Linked DNA regions of Homo sapiens: all the other regions are linked to region 3. The links are contacts of gene promoters, found by promoter capture Hi-C in human tissues and cell types (Jung and others, 2019). All regions are on one chromosome and are shown on one strand. Each heading gives the region's core, a stretch centred on a gene start or on the middle of the fragment in contact. The rest is flanking DNA. Distances are from core to core; before and after follow the strand shown.

Region 1 (4,819 bases), core at 1,014-3,513, 82 kb before region 3:
ACAAGAAGCACAAAACTGTGAAAAACATGACACTAAATAGACTGTGAAAAGGACACTTGTTTACGGGTCGGAGAGCTGAAACAGGGAGATGAGTGCTGACTGCTTCACCTCAGCGGGTGACTTTAGTCTCTGGAGACATCAATTTTTCACCACTCTGTGTATGCACCGGCTTTCAAATACCCACAGAAAGGCCCAAGTATTGATTTTGGGGTTACAAATAAATTTAGCTAGAGGTGAACCCACAAATACAGAATCCAAGAATAATGAAGATGATTTGAATCGTGAGGTTATGTTAGAAACACCCCACCTCTGCACCCCTGAGTACTTCAGTGTATATTTCCAAAATGGTTGTTCTCTTACATAATCACTTTTGTAGTTGTCAGAATCTGGAAACTCACCAGCAATACAATACTATAATTTGATACATGCTTTTCCCCCAGTCCAGCAGCCAGTCCAAGATCACAGGATGTGTTTAGTTGTCCTGTCTTTTGGTGCCTCAGTCTTGCTTTGCTTTTTGTGGTCTTGACTTGCAGAATGTCCTTCTGTGTGTGTTATCTGATGTTTCCTTGTGAGTAGATTCAAGTTGTGCGTTTGTGGCAAGAATATCCAGGGGTGATGTCTTCTCAGTGCATAAGGAGAGATGTACTGCTGTTATTTTGCTATTTGTCCTCTGTTTGCTTCCTAGCTTTTCTGGACCTCATTTCCTGCATTACAAGCTTTTTGGTGTGTTTGGTTTTTTTTTTTAATAGAAAAATGTTTGAATTTCTTCTCATTTTCTTCTGTGTATATTCTACAGCTATTTTCTTTGTTATTACAATGGGTATTACATTTAACATCTGTATTAGTCCATTCTCATGCTGCTAACAAAGACATACCCGAGACTGGGTAATTTATAAAGGAAAGAGGCTTAATTGACTCACACTTCACCATGGCTGGGGAGGCCTCAGGAAACTTACAGTCATGGGTGGAAGGGGAAGCAAACATGTCCTTCTTCACATGCCAACAGTAAGGAGAAGTGCTGAGCAAAAGGGGGAAAGTCCCCTTATAAAACCATCAGATCTCATGAGAACTCACTCACTATCATGAGAACAGCAACTTTGAGGTAATGACCCCCATGATTCAATTACTTTCCACCAGGCCCCTCCCATGACAAATGGGGATTGTAGGAACTACAATTCAAGATGATATTTGGGTGGGGACACAGCCAAACCATATCAACATCCTAAAGTTATAACACTCTGGTTTGAATTTATACCAGGTCAACTTCAGTATCGTATAAAAACTCTGCTCTTTTTACAGCTCCATCTCTTTTTCTTATGGTTGTTGATGTCATAAAATTATATCTTTAAACATTCTATGCCCCAAAACATAAACTGACAATGATTTTTAAAAAGTTAGTGTCTTAAATTATACAGCAAACAAAATGTGTAGTTACAAACCAGTTACAGTAATACTAGCGTTGGATTAGTTCTTGGTTTAACTAATCAATTAATTAATTTATTATTATACTGACTTTTAATTTATTTTATTTACTTATTTATTTATTTTGAGATGGAGTCTGTCTCACTCTTGTCACCCAGGCTGGAGTGCAGTGGCCCGATCTTGGCTCACAGAAACCTCCGCCTCCCAGGTTCAAGCGATTTTCCTGCCTTAGCCTCCCAAGTAGCTGGGATTACAGGCACCCACCACCATGCCTGGCTAATTTTTGTATTTTTAGTAGAGACAGGATTTTACCATGTTGGCCAGGCTGGTCTTGAACTCCTGACCTCAGATGATCTGCCTGCCTCGGCCTCCAAAAGTGCTGAGATTACAGATGTGAGCCACTGCACCCGGCCGATACTGATTGTTTTTTAAAGTGTAATAGTCTCTTAAATTCTGCAGAAAACCAAAAGTAGTTTTACAACCTACTGTTACAATAGTACTAGCTTTTATAATTGCACATATATTTGCCTCTATTGAGATCTTTACTTCTTCATACAGTTTCATGTTACTATCTAGTGTCCTTTCGTTTCACCTTCAGGACTCCCTTAAGCATATCTTGCAGAGCAGGTTTACTGGTTATGAACTTCTTGAGTTTTCTTCTTCGCTTTTTTTTTCTTTTTCTTTCTTCTTTTTGTTCAGAGACAGGGCCTCACTCTGTCACCCAGGATGGAGTACAGTAGCATGATCACAGTTCACTGCAACCTCAACCTCCTGGGCTCAAGCAATCCTCCTCCCTCAGCCTCCTGAGTAGCTAGGATTACAAACATGCATCACAACGCCTGACCTTTGATTTTGTAGAGATAGGGTCTCACTATGTTGCCCAGGCTGGTCTCAAAATCCTGGACTCAAGTGATCTTCCTGCCTTGTCCTCCAAAGTATTGGGATTATAGGTATGAGCTATTGTACCTGGCCCCTTTGGCTTTTCTTATATTTTTCTTTTATCTTCTTAAAAATATTATTTATGGGTTGGGTATGGTGGCTCATGCCTGTAATCCTAACACTCTGAGAGGCCAAAGTGGGCAGATTGCTTGAGCCCAGGAGTTGGAGACCACCCTGGACAACATGGAGAAACCCCACTCTACAAAAAAGAAAAAAAAAATTAGCTGGGCTTGGTGCATGTCTGTAGTCCCAGCTGTAGTCCTCAGGAGGCTGAGATGGGAGGATCACTTGAGCCCAGGAGGCTGAGGCTGTAGTGAGCTGTGATCATGCCGCTCCACTACAACCTGGGCGACACAGCAAGACCTTGTCTCAAAAAATTTTATATTATTGATTCCTTTCTTTTACAAACCCTTATCTTGAGGGCTGACTTTAAATAGATCACAGTGAGGGAGATACTCTGCTATGTACAAAATCCTGACCCAGAAGCAGGTTGTCTATGAATGGTTTAGTACCAGGTTCTCCGTGAATGTGCACTCCATGATGGGCCAGCGGGGACAGCCCATTTCTGGCCATACCCCATTTCACGGGTTGAGGAGTTCTCTGTACTGGACTCCGGTCCTGGCACCAGATGAGGCACTGGCAGCACGGTAAAGGACCAGCTATCTGAGGCCAACCAAGGCTCTGCAGTGCTATCATATCATTCTGCCTTCTGCCTGGGCGGAGTTTTGATTTAGAGGCATTCAGTCATAATCTCACGGATGGAAGCTTTGCTGCATTGGCTTTTCAGCCAAGCACATATTCTTCACTTTTGAAAGACAGTTTTATCCAATATAGGATTCTTGGTTGACAGGTTTTTTGTTTTTGTTTTTGTTTGTTTATTTTTTATTTTTTTGAGACCGAGTCTCACTCTGTCTCCAGGCTGGAGTGCAATGACATGATCTCAGCTCACTGCAACCTCTGCCTCCTGGGTTCAAGCGATTCTCCTGCCTCAGCCTCCTGGGTAGCTGGGATTACAGGTGCACACCACCAAGCCCTGCTAATTTTTGTATTTTTAGTAGATGGCATTTTGCCATGTTGGCCGGGATGGTCTCAATCTCTTGACCTCGTGATCTGCCCTCCTCAGCCTCCCAAAGTGCTGGGATTACAGGCGTGAGTCACCATGCCCGGCTGTTTTTTTTTTTCTTTTAATAGTTTGAAAATGTCTTGGGAGGCCGAGGCAGGCAGATCACAAGGTCAGGAGATTGAGACCATCCTGGCTAACATGGTGAAACCCCATCTCTACTAAAGATACAAAAATTTAGCCAGGCGTGGTAATGGGCGCCTGTATTCCCAGCTACTCAGAAGGCTGAGGCAGGAGAATGGCATGAACCTGGGAGGTGGAGCTTGCAGTGAGCCGAGATCAAGCCATTGCACTCCAGCCTGGGCGACAGAGCGAGACTCTGTCTCAAAAAAAAAGAAAGAACAAAAAAGAAAATGTCAGCCCACTGTCTTCTGGCCTGAAAAATTTCTAATGAGAAATCTGTTGAAAATCTTATTTAAGATCTTGGTATGTCACATGTCTCTTCTCTCTTGCTACTTTCAGCATTCTCTCTTTGTCTTTCAAAAGTTTAATTATTATTAATTATTATTATTATTATTATTTTGAGAAGGAGTTTTGCTCTTGTTGCCCAGGCTGGAGTGCAATGGTGGAATCTCGACTCACTGCAACCTCCACCTCCCAGGTTCAAGCAATTCTCCTGCCTCTGCCTCCTGAGTAGCTGGAATTACAGGCATGCTCCACCATGCCCGGCTAATTTTTTATTTTTAGTAGAGACAGAGTTTCTCCATGTTGGTCAGGCTAGTCTCAAACTCCTGACCTCAGGTGATCCACCTGCCTTGGCCTCCCAAAATGCTGGGATTACAGGCATGAGCCGCCGCACCTGGCCTCAAAAGTTTAATTGTAACGTGTCTTGGTGTGACTCCTTCTCTCTCTTAATTTTAATATTTAATTTAATTTTATTTATTTATTTATTTATTTTTGAGACAGAGTCTTTTTGTGTCACCCAGGCTGGAGTGCAGTGGCGTGATCTTGGCTCACTGCAACCTCCACCTACTGGGTTCAAGCGATTCTCCTACCTCAGTCTCCTGAGTAGCTGGGACTGTGGGCGCGTGCCACCACACCTGGCTAATTTTTGTACTTTTAGTAAAGATGGGGTTTCGCCATGTTGTCCAAGCTGGTCGCGAACTCCTGACCTCAGGTGATCCACCCGCCTCGGCGTCCCAGAGTGCTGGGATTACAGGTGTGAGCCACTGTGCCCAGCCAATTGAATTTAATTTTTGAGACAGGGTCTTACTCTGTCACCTAGGCTGGAGTGCAGTGGCACAATCATAGCTCACTGTAGCTTTGACCTCCTGGGCTCAAGCAATCCTCTCACCTCAGCTTCCCAAGTAGCTGGGACTATAGGTGTGTGCCATCTAC
Region 2 (4,541 bases), core at 1,548-4,047, 100 kb before region 3:
AGAGGCTGCAGTGAGCTATGATCATGCCACTGCACTCCAGCCTGGGTGACAGAGTGAGACCTCACCTTTAAAAACATAAATAAATAAAAAGTTTAAATCATACACTATCCTTCAACTGAAGGTATAAAATGCAGCTACTGAGTTATATAGATTTTGAAAATAGAGCCAGCCTCTTAATTACACCTCTGATTACTCACACACTTGCTAGGCCAGATAACCATGATCTTCCTGAATAGCATTGTAATTGAACATTTTTCTATTTATATTAAAACTTACAATAAAAACTGAAACTATTAGAATTTCTCATTGAGCAAAACATTTTAAGGAGCAAACTATCCACTACTGGTAAGTTTATGATCAGACATTCGCAATTCTTTTTTTTTTTTTTTCAGACGGAGTCTCACTCTGTCCACCAGGCTGGAGTGCAGTGGCATGATCTCAGCTCACTGCAAGCTCCACCTCCCGGGTTCAAGCCATTCTCCTGCCTCAGCCTCCTGAGTACCTGGGACTACAGACACCCGCCACCACAATTAGCTAACTTTTTGTATTTTTAGTACAGACAGGGTTTCACCGTGTTAGGCAGGATGGTCTCAATCTCCTGACCTCGAGATCCACCCACCTCGGCCTCCCAAAGTGCTGGGATTACAGGCGTGAGCCACCGCGCCCGGCCAGACGTTCGCAATTCTTAGACTTACTTATTTGGCTACTGATCTACAGCCAGACATGTAAGAAACTCCTAATTGCCTTATCACAGAAAATACTGCTTCATTCTTAAATATCACATTCAATACGTATTTACGACGAGGGATGTCATGTAAGAAAGACTTCATGTCTTCATCTCAGTAGTTATTTTAAAACAAAGGTTTTCACTGATGGGGTTGTTGAGGGAAAGTCCTCAAAAAAACTTCCAGAAGAAAACAAAAAATGCCTGCTTCCCCCATCTCTCCACATTTGATCCATCTGCTTACCTAGCAGTGCCTAGAAATAAAATCAAGGATGCTTTCTTTGTTACTGTTTTCTCTAGGACTCAAACAGCCATTCACGGTTCTAGAAACAGATGCCACCTAGTGTCAAATGACTGTAAGTACAGCCTTTACAGCCCACAGTTTCTGTCAGAAGTTACAAGAAGTACATCAAAGATTTTTACTGGGCAAGGACAAGTGTGAGGAAAAGCTTCCAAAAGGTGGTTCTTGGGCTGGACGTTAGAGGCCACTTTGAGTTTGCCAGCTGGTGGGCTTTGCAGAGGCAGCCCGCACAGGGATTAAGGATGTGGCTCTGCAGTCAAAGCACCTGTCCCACCCTAGCTTCATCCTTACCCCAGCAGTGTGAGCAGACGAGTTATTTAACTTCACCGATGCCCCACCAGTACAATGAAAAGAAGGCCTCCCTAGGTTTGGCACAAGATATTTTAAATGAGCACAAACTGCTAACAAATTAAGGTCTCCCCTTCCAAGTAACTAAGGCAAAAGTAAAGCAGGCCAGAAACATTCTTCACAAAACTTTAATCAAGTAGAAATTTCCCTTCTATTCCCCACCATAACTCACACATGAAAAAAAAAATCTCATCACCTCACCCATTTAAAAAAGAACAAATGTGCAAAAGAATAATTATGACACAAGGCTGAGCACCAGTTCTGCTTTCCCTACAGTTCCCAAAGAGAAGGAATGTAACTTCTGGCTGCAACACGCATGATTAAAAATCATGCCAAGCAGCAGGGCACAGTGGCTCACGTCTGTAATCCCAGCACTTTGGGAGGCTGAGGCGGGCGGATCACGAGGTCAGGAGATCGAGACCATCCTGGCTAACACGGTGAAACCCCGTCTCCACTAAAAATACAAAAAATTAGCCGGGCATGGTGGCGGCTGAGGCAGGAGAATGGTGTGAACCTGGGAGGCGGAGCTTGCAGTGAGCCAAGATTGCGCCACTGCACTCCAGCCTCGGCGACAGAGCGAGACTCCGTTTCAAAAAAAAAAAAAAAATCATGCCAAGCTACATCTCCCATCCTAAACATTCAGAGGGACCACAGACTGGACTACAGAGCTTCTTACAACACAGTTTAGTTTGTGGTGTACCTGGTCAAACAGATTATTTTCACACCCTATAAAAGAAGATACAAACATCACTGCCCTTTAACACACACTCAATACTATCATCCCCATTTTACAAATGAGAACAAAACTCAGAGAATTAGAAAAAAAACTGAAGTGAAGTCCAGGCTGAGAGACTGTGTACTGTTAATATCACACAAAAAAGCAACACAGGCCAGGCACGGTGGCTCACGCCTGTAATCCCAGCACTTTGGGAGGCCGAGGTGGGCGGATCACGAGGTCAAGAATTCGAGACCAGCCTGGCGAACATAGTGAAAATCCATTTCTACTAAAAATACAAAAATTAGCCAGGCATGGTGGCACCTGCCCGTAGTCCCAGCTACTCGGGAGGCTGAGGCAGGAGAATCGCTTGAACCCAGGAGGCAGAGGTTGTGGTGAACCAAGATCGTGCCACTGCACTCCAGCTTGGGCAACAGAGTGAGACTCCATCTCAAAAAAAAAAAAAAAACAAACCAAAAAACAACACAGAATAATGACCCAAACAAATTTTTTATTTTTTTAGACGCTGTCTCGCTCTATTGCCCAGGCTGGAGTGCAGTGGCACGATCTCTGCTCACTGCAACCTCTGCCTCCCAGGTTCAAGGAATTCTCTGTCTCAGCCTCCCGAGTAGCAGGAATTACAGGTGCCCACCACCACGCCCAGCTAATTTTTGTATTTTCAGTAGAGACAGCGTTTCACCATGTTGGCCAGGATGGTCTTGAACTCCTGACCACGTGATTCACCTGTCTCGGCCTCCCAAAGTGCTGAGGTTACAGGCGTGAGCCATCACGCCTGGCCCCAAACAAATTTTTAAACACACTTCGCCCAAGCCAGGCACGGTGGCTCACGCCTGTAATCCCAGCACTTTAGGAGGCCGAGGCGGGAGGGTCACGAGGTCAGGAGTTCAAGACCAGCCTGGCCAACATGGTGAAACCCCGTCTCTACTAAAAATACAAAAGTTAGCTAGGCGTGGTGGCATGTGGCTGTAATCCCAGCTACTCGGGAGGCTGAGGCAGGAGAATTGCATGAACCGGGACCTGGGAGGTGGAGGTTGCAATGAGCCAAGATCGCGCCACTGCACTCCAGCCTGGGCAACAGAGTGAGACTCTGTCTCCAAACAAACAAACAAAAAAACCACTGTGCCCCATATTTGAAGAGTAAAACTCTAGAGCAAAATAGACATCGTTCCTGACTGCATAGAGGTCAGAGCATACTATGGGAAGAGATGTAAGTAAGTATGTGGTTATCAATCTGATGCGAGCTGTAAGAAAAACAAACAGGATGTTAGGAGAGAGACTAATGTAAGAATGGACTTGAGATGGGATGATCAGGGAAATATAAATCAAAATTGTAAATATAAAAACAAGACCAGACATGGCAGCTCATCCTATAATCCCAGCACTTTGGGAGGCCAAGGCGAGATGATTGCTTGGGCCCAGGAGACTAAGGCTGCAGTGAACTGGGATTATGCCACTGCTCTCCAGCCTGGGAGGCTACAAGACCCTGTCTCAAAAACAAACAAACAAAAAATACCTTTTTTGGGTCAAAAGCCCTCCTGGTACTTATTTATATGCACCAAACAAATATTTGCTTTAAACCCTCCAGGACCCTGAATGACGTCTGGTTTTGTTTCCTTTCCAAGGGGGAAAGTGAAGGGGGGTTTCCTATGGTGCCACTGGCTCACTGGCTGAAGGATCAAGCCCCCTTTTACTTCTCAGTGAGGAAAGCTGCAGCTTCCTAAAATCAGATTGGTTTTCTTACTAAAAATATCTATTTCTCCATATGATGCAACATAAACATTGCCTCGAAAATAAAAATACTCCTCAGAGACCATTAAAATGTATCATACATTTCAACCGTGTTATACAAATCAGACAGGCAAAACAATTCATCGGGCCGACCTAGAATCCACTCAGTTCAACAAACTTATGAAGAACCTCCCAGAGCTGCCAGGCACTGTTCGTGGTGCTGGAATACTGGTCATGTCCAGGGAACACTAGAGGGCGTATGAGAGCTTCTACTTTCAGGAAAATCAGTCGTTGAGTCAGGGAAGAAAACCAAACAGATGCATAAGGGGAAAAAAAGTTAACAGGGTAGAAAAGTACAGACTAGGAAGCAGAATGACCCTTCACTGAATGGGCCTTTTGCGTAAGGCCTGAGAAGCAAGCCGAGTGCCATTAGAGATGTGCTGACCAGGCATTCCTATAAAGGTGGCACAAGGTAGAAACACAGGTGTCACAACACACACATTCGGTTTCTACTGGTTCCCCTAACATGCAGGACTCGGGATTCGCTAGCTCAGCAACCCTATCAGGTGAAACAGGTATTAGCACTACAACAAGGAGGCTAAAGCTCAGAAACAAATTGCTTTCCTAAACTCAAAGTGCTACTAAGTGGTAAGGGTGGGTCTAAAACCTTCATCTTTAAACTGCAGTCTGGGGTTTACTCCAGT
Region 3 (4,647 bases), core at 1,658-4,157:
TAGAAACCTGACTTGAACTTTGGGCCAGTTGTAATGTGTCCTCTATGACAGGCCATCCTGGGCCCCCTTCCCTTTGTTCCTGTGGCTGGAGCCCTGAGCAGGCCCCATCCACTTGAGTCCAAGAGGCCCTCTCTCCTGGCTGCTACCATTGTACCCACCTGCTGGCCAGGCCCCCACAGGGGCCTCTTTCCTCCTGACAGTCTCATCCCCACTCAGCAGCCAGAGTGCCTTCTTTATAAATGTAGATCAGATCCTTTCACTGTATTTGTTCATCCAACACACATTTACTGAGCACCTACTGTGTGCTAGGCCCTGGTACGGGCACAGGAAACACATCAGGGAATAAAACTACACTCTCTGCTCTCCTGGAGCTTCCATGCTAGTGGAGAGAAGAAAGATACGTAAACATGTAATGAGTCAGGTGGTGATGAGTACAAAGGAGAAAAGTAAAGCAGAGAAATGGAGTAGAAAGTGCTGGCAATAGTGGGTGGTGGTGGTGGGGGGTGTGGTTTGCAATTTTCAACAGGGGTCCTCAGGCCTGACTGAGGAGCTGAAGAGGTAAGAGAGTGAGCCACGAGGCTAAGTGGGGTGAAAGAGTTGGAGCAGAAAAGGTGGGAGGATCACCAGGCATGATGGCCCCTCTCTGTAGTCCTAACTACTAGAGACAGGCTCATGCCTGTCATCCCAGCACTTTGGGAGGCCGAGGCAGGTGGATCATCTGAGGCCAGGAGTTCAAGACCAGCCAGACCAACATGGTGAAACCCTGTCTCTACTAAAAATACAAAAATAAGCTGGGCGTGGTGGCACATGCCTGTAATCCCAGCTACTTGGGAGGCTGAGGCAGGAGAATTGCTTGAGCCTGGGAGGCAGAGGTTGTGGTGAGCCAAGATTGCCCCACTGCACTCCAGCCTGGGCAACAGAGTGAGATCCCATCTCAAAACAAAACAACAAAAGCTAACTACTTGAGAGGCTGAGGTGGGAGGATTGCTTGAGCCCAGGAGTTTGAGGTTGCAATGAGCTACGATCACACCACTACACTCCAGCCTGGGCCACAGAGTGAGACCCTGTCTCAAAAAAAAAAAAAAAAAAAAGAGTCCCAGCAGAGAACAGCAAGCACAAAGGCCCTGAGGCAGGAGTGCACCTGGTGTGTTTGAGAACCCACAGAGACACCACTGTGGCTGGAGCAGGGTGAGATGTGGGAAGGGAGTGGCTAAGGAAGCTGAGAGGTCAAGGAAGAAGTGTGGTTGGAGCAGGCCCTGCAGGTGCCGAAGGCTTTTGCTTCTTTCCTGAGATGGCAGCCCTCACGAGCCCTGGAGCTTCCCTGGCTGCCATGAGATCAGGTGGAAGGGGGTCGAGGCTGCAAGTGGGGACGCATGAGTGGGTGACAGGTGGCAGTAGTAGAAGTGTAAGAAGAGCTGGGAGTCTGGGTCTCTTCTATCTTGAAAATAGAACCCCAGGCTGTGCTGGTAGAGCTGGATGCAGGGTGGAAGAAGGGAAAATATTTTTGCTGCTTAAATCCTAGCCTGGCTTCCCATTGCTCGTGGGGTGCATTCTCGATTCCTCTTCCCCGCCTGAGGTCTGACATGTGCTGGCCCTGGCTGGCCTCTCCTGTACCTTCTACCACCAGCTCCAGCTCATGGCCTGATGTGGTTCCTCCCCCGAATCCAGCGACCAGGCTGCCCTCTGCCCCAGCGCCTCCTCCGTGGATGTCTGCTCTTCCTGAACTGCCCTCCCACCGGACGGCTGCTCCTTGGTAGCAGCTCAAGTGTCCTTCCTTCCCTAAGCCAGTTTCCCCAAACACTGCAGCACAACGCCCTTCATTTCTCATGGCATTCTTCATGGCCTGTCAATGGGGCTTTTGTTGTTTTAATTTTCCGTCTTCTTGTTTTTGTTGGTCTTCCTAGAATATAAACCCCATGAGGGCAGAGGCGTTCAGCCTGACTCCAGCCTGGCAAAGCTGTCACAAATCTGGAGGAACACACACGTTCACGGGCACTCAGTTCTGTGAGGTACTGCAAGCCCTCTCTGAACCTGCAAGGTGGCCATTGCTGTCCCCACTTTACAAAGGAGGAAAGAGTGCGCGGAGAGGTTCTACTTAGACCCGCCAAGGGCACAGTCGTTCTAGAAAGTAGCAGACTGGGAGTTCCAACTTGGGCTTGCTGGTTCCAGAGCCCCTTCTGTGCCCCTTCCAGGCTGTGCCTGGGTGAGATTCTTCTCCTACCAGCACGTCTTCTTCCTGGAGGGTTCAGTGGCTGAGCTGACACCGGTGGGCAAGAGGCCCTGGCGGGCTTGTTGAAGGACTCAAAGGTGGCGTCTGGGAGCCTGGCGGGACTTTCTCCCTGTCAGCCTAGAGGCACTTTTAGAGGAGTGTGTCTGTTTCGCAGTCTTCGTGTCTCATAATTCATAACTAAGGTAGAGGGTACACATTTAGTTTACAGTAAAACCTCAAACCCACCTCCACTCCCAGCCGGCCACTTCTCTCCCTGTTCCCTTCTCTGCCCTCCACAGGTGAGAACAAGTGTCCGGGGCCGCCCCGTGGGGCCCCAGGCTGCCCGCCCTGAAACTGCCTCGCTGTGTGCCCTTGGGCAACCCCGCCCTGCTCCGTGCCTCAGTTTCCCCACTCATAGAGGCTCCACAGGTGACACACCTGGCTCCGGGCCCCGATCGGCCGCCGGGCCCCGCGGGGCGGAAACCCCGCGCCAAGCCTCCCGGAGGCACCTCCAGGGCAGGGCGGGGAGCGCGGGGAGGGGCCGCGGGGACCTGCGCCGCTGGGGCCGCCTGGCCGCCGGCCGGCTCCGGGGGGCGCCCGCGGGAGGGCGCGGCCGGTGCGGGGGGCGCGGGTGGCGGCGGCGGGGGGCGGAGACGCGGCGCGGCTTCCGCTCCCGCGCGCCCAGCTCCCTCCTCCCCGTCGTCCTGGTCCGCGGCGCCCGAGGGGGGAGGCGGAGGCGCCGGGAGCCGCGCGAGGAGCCGCCGCCGCCGCGCCATGGAGCCCGAGTGAGCGCGGCGCGGGCCCGTCCGGCCGCCGGACAACATGGAGGCAGCGCCGCCCGGGCCGCCGTGGCCGCTGCTGCTGCTGCTGCTGCTGCTGCTGGCGCTGTGCGGCTGCCCGGCCCCCGCCGCGGGTAGGTGGGCGCAGGCCGGCCGGGGGCCGCGGGTTGCTCGGACAATGGCCCGGGCGGCCCCGCGGCCAAGTGCGCGGGCGCCGCCGCCGTCTCGGAAGCGACTTGGCGAGTTGGGAGCGAGTTGGGGCGCGCGCCCGGGATCCCCCTGCCGTCCCCGGCGTCCCCGCCACGCGCGGGCCCTTTGTCTCCCCACCCGGGCCCTCCCCGGGGACGCTGCGTCCCGGGCTGGCGAGGAGGGCGCCCGCTCCGCCAGGTGCGGCGCGGGCGGGTCCTCACCTGCCCGAGCCCGCGGGAAGCCGGGAGCCGAGCCGAGCCCGCGCTGGGCCCGTGTGGCCCGGGCCGGGCACCGAGCGGGGACTTGGGGCGCGGAGGCGGGCCTGGCCCGGGGAGCCGGTTCGCAAGCCTGTTTCCAGCGGCCGCGCGGCCGCCCCGCGTGCTCCGAGGACGGGCTGAAGTTGCAGCGAGAAAGTTCTGAGCCCGGGCGCGGGGCGGCCTGGCCGGTGGCGCTGCTCCTGTGAGCCGCGTGGCTGTGGGTTTCCAAGCGGACTGACACCTGCCAGGTGCCCGGGCGACCCGAATGCCCCGTGTGGCCGCCGGGTCCCCAGATAGTGTCCATCCCCGGGTCGGCTACGCGGAGGTGACGTGGTCCCAGATCGCGGGGCAGTGGGGGAGGCAGGCTTGTGCCTCAGTTGTACACTCCCGTGGGGAGAGGTAGGGCGGGGGAACTTTCTCTCCAACTTTTGGTGTTTCCCAGGGGGTGGAGTTGAGGTCAGGAGGACTCAGGAAACTTAAGCAGTCGTGAAACGCTACACATGTTCTTTTAATTTGGAGATTGCCATGTGGTTTTTCAAGCAAGCCTCTTGCTACCTAAATCATTCTCTTCGGATGTGCGTGTTTTGTTTTTCTGGAGTATGGCTGGCCAAGTGGCACGGCCGCAAGTGCCTGTGCACGCCGCGGCTCCTGTTCTGTTTGTGGCAGTTTAGCGGGGAGGACCTCGGGCCCCTTTGTCTGGGCCTCCTTAAGGCAAACAGCTGTCTCCCTGAATATTTCCAGTGTGAATGGTGCAGCGGGGTGGCCCTGTAGTCAGATCCCCCAGGCTGCAGCCTCTGCTTGGAGGTGTGGGGGACAGCGGGGAACAGGAGGAGCTTGGAGTTTGTTTCACGTCCTCCTGCCTCTGACCCAAGCCTAGAGATTCTATGGACAGTTTCACCCCAAATCTGCCTCTTTCAGGAGCGTGTTTACATTGTGGGGCCTTGTCTGGAGCTAGCAAAACAAGGTGAAGACAAAACAGCGACAGTATCTGGGGAGTACAGGCCAGCGCCGCTCCTTTTTCCGGAAATGCCTGGGTCAAGGAGGCAAAAGGGGTTTTGGGGAAACTGTTTGTTTTAAAGGGGGGGTTTCTAGGCCGACCGCGTTGCCTTTCACCTCATTGCAGTTTTGGGTTTTGTGCACGTTTTGGGGTGATGTTGCTGGAGTCAAATGCCTGTCGTCCATGTGGTTCGAGCCCCTGAGGAGAAAGAATTAT

The links. Contacts are between HindIII fragments. The study calls those that stand out against the background at their distance.
Region 1: a contact is called between a fragment that was not itself captured here and the fragment with the promoter of LRP5 in region 3, in 2 of the 25 tissues and cell types used here (IMR-90 fibroblasts and small bowel).
Region 2: a fragment that was not itself captured here is called in contact with the fragment with the promoter of LRP5 in region 3 in 2 of the 25 tissues and cell types used here (aorta and lymphoblastoid cells).

The regions. Positions count from the first base shown.
Region 1 is chr11:68,228,812-68,233,630 of GRCh38, forward strand. No RefSeq gene overlaps it. Among named protein-coding and RNA genes, the nearest start is that of KMT5B, 18 kb to the left of the region's middle. The HindIII fragment of the contact is 3,922 bases long and covers 303-4,224 here.
Region 2 is chr11:68,205,250-68,209,790 of GRCh38, forward strand. All of the region lies in intron 1 of KMT5B (lysine methyltransferase 5B), which reads right to left. Among named protein-coding and RNA genes, the nearest start is that of KMT5B, 5.8 kb to the right of the region's middle. RefSeq lists a silencer at 1,059-1,148. The HindIII fragment of the contact is 5,675 bases long and covers 1-4,541 here.
Region 3 is chr11:68,309,684-68,314,330 of GRCh38, forward strand. LRP5 (LDL receptor related protein 5) reads left to right here and starts at 2,908. Exons shown (of 23, transcript NM_002335.4): 1 at 2,908-3,122. The coding sequence starts at 3,032. It overlaps LOC124900302 (a long non-coding RNA gene), which reads left to right and starts at 3,766. Exons shown (of 2, transcript XR_007062749.1): 1 at 3,766-4,647. RefSeq lists silencers at 2,533-2,822, 2,843-3,042, 3,233-3,392, 3,403-3,472 and enhancers at 2,894-3,769, 3,770-4,644. The HindIII fragment of the contact is 14,214 bases long and covers 1-4,647 here.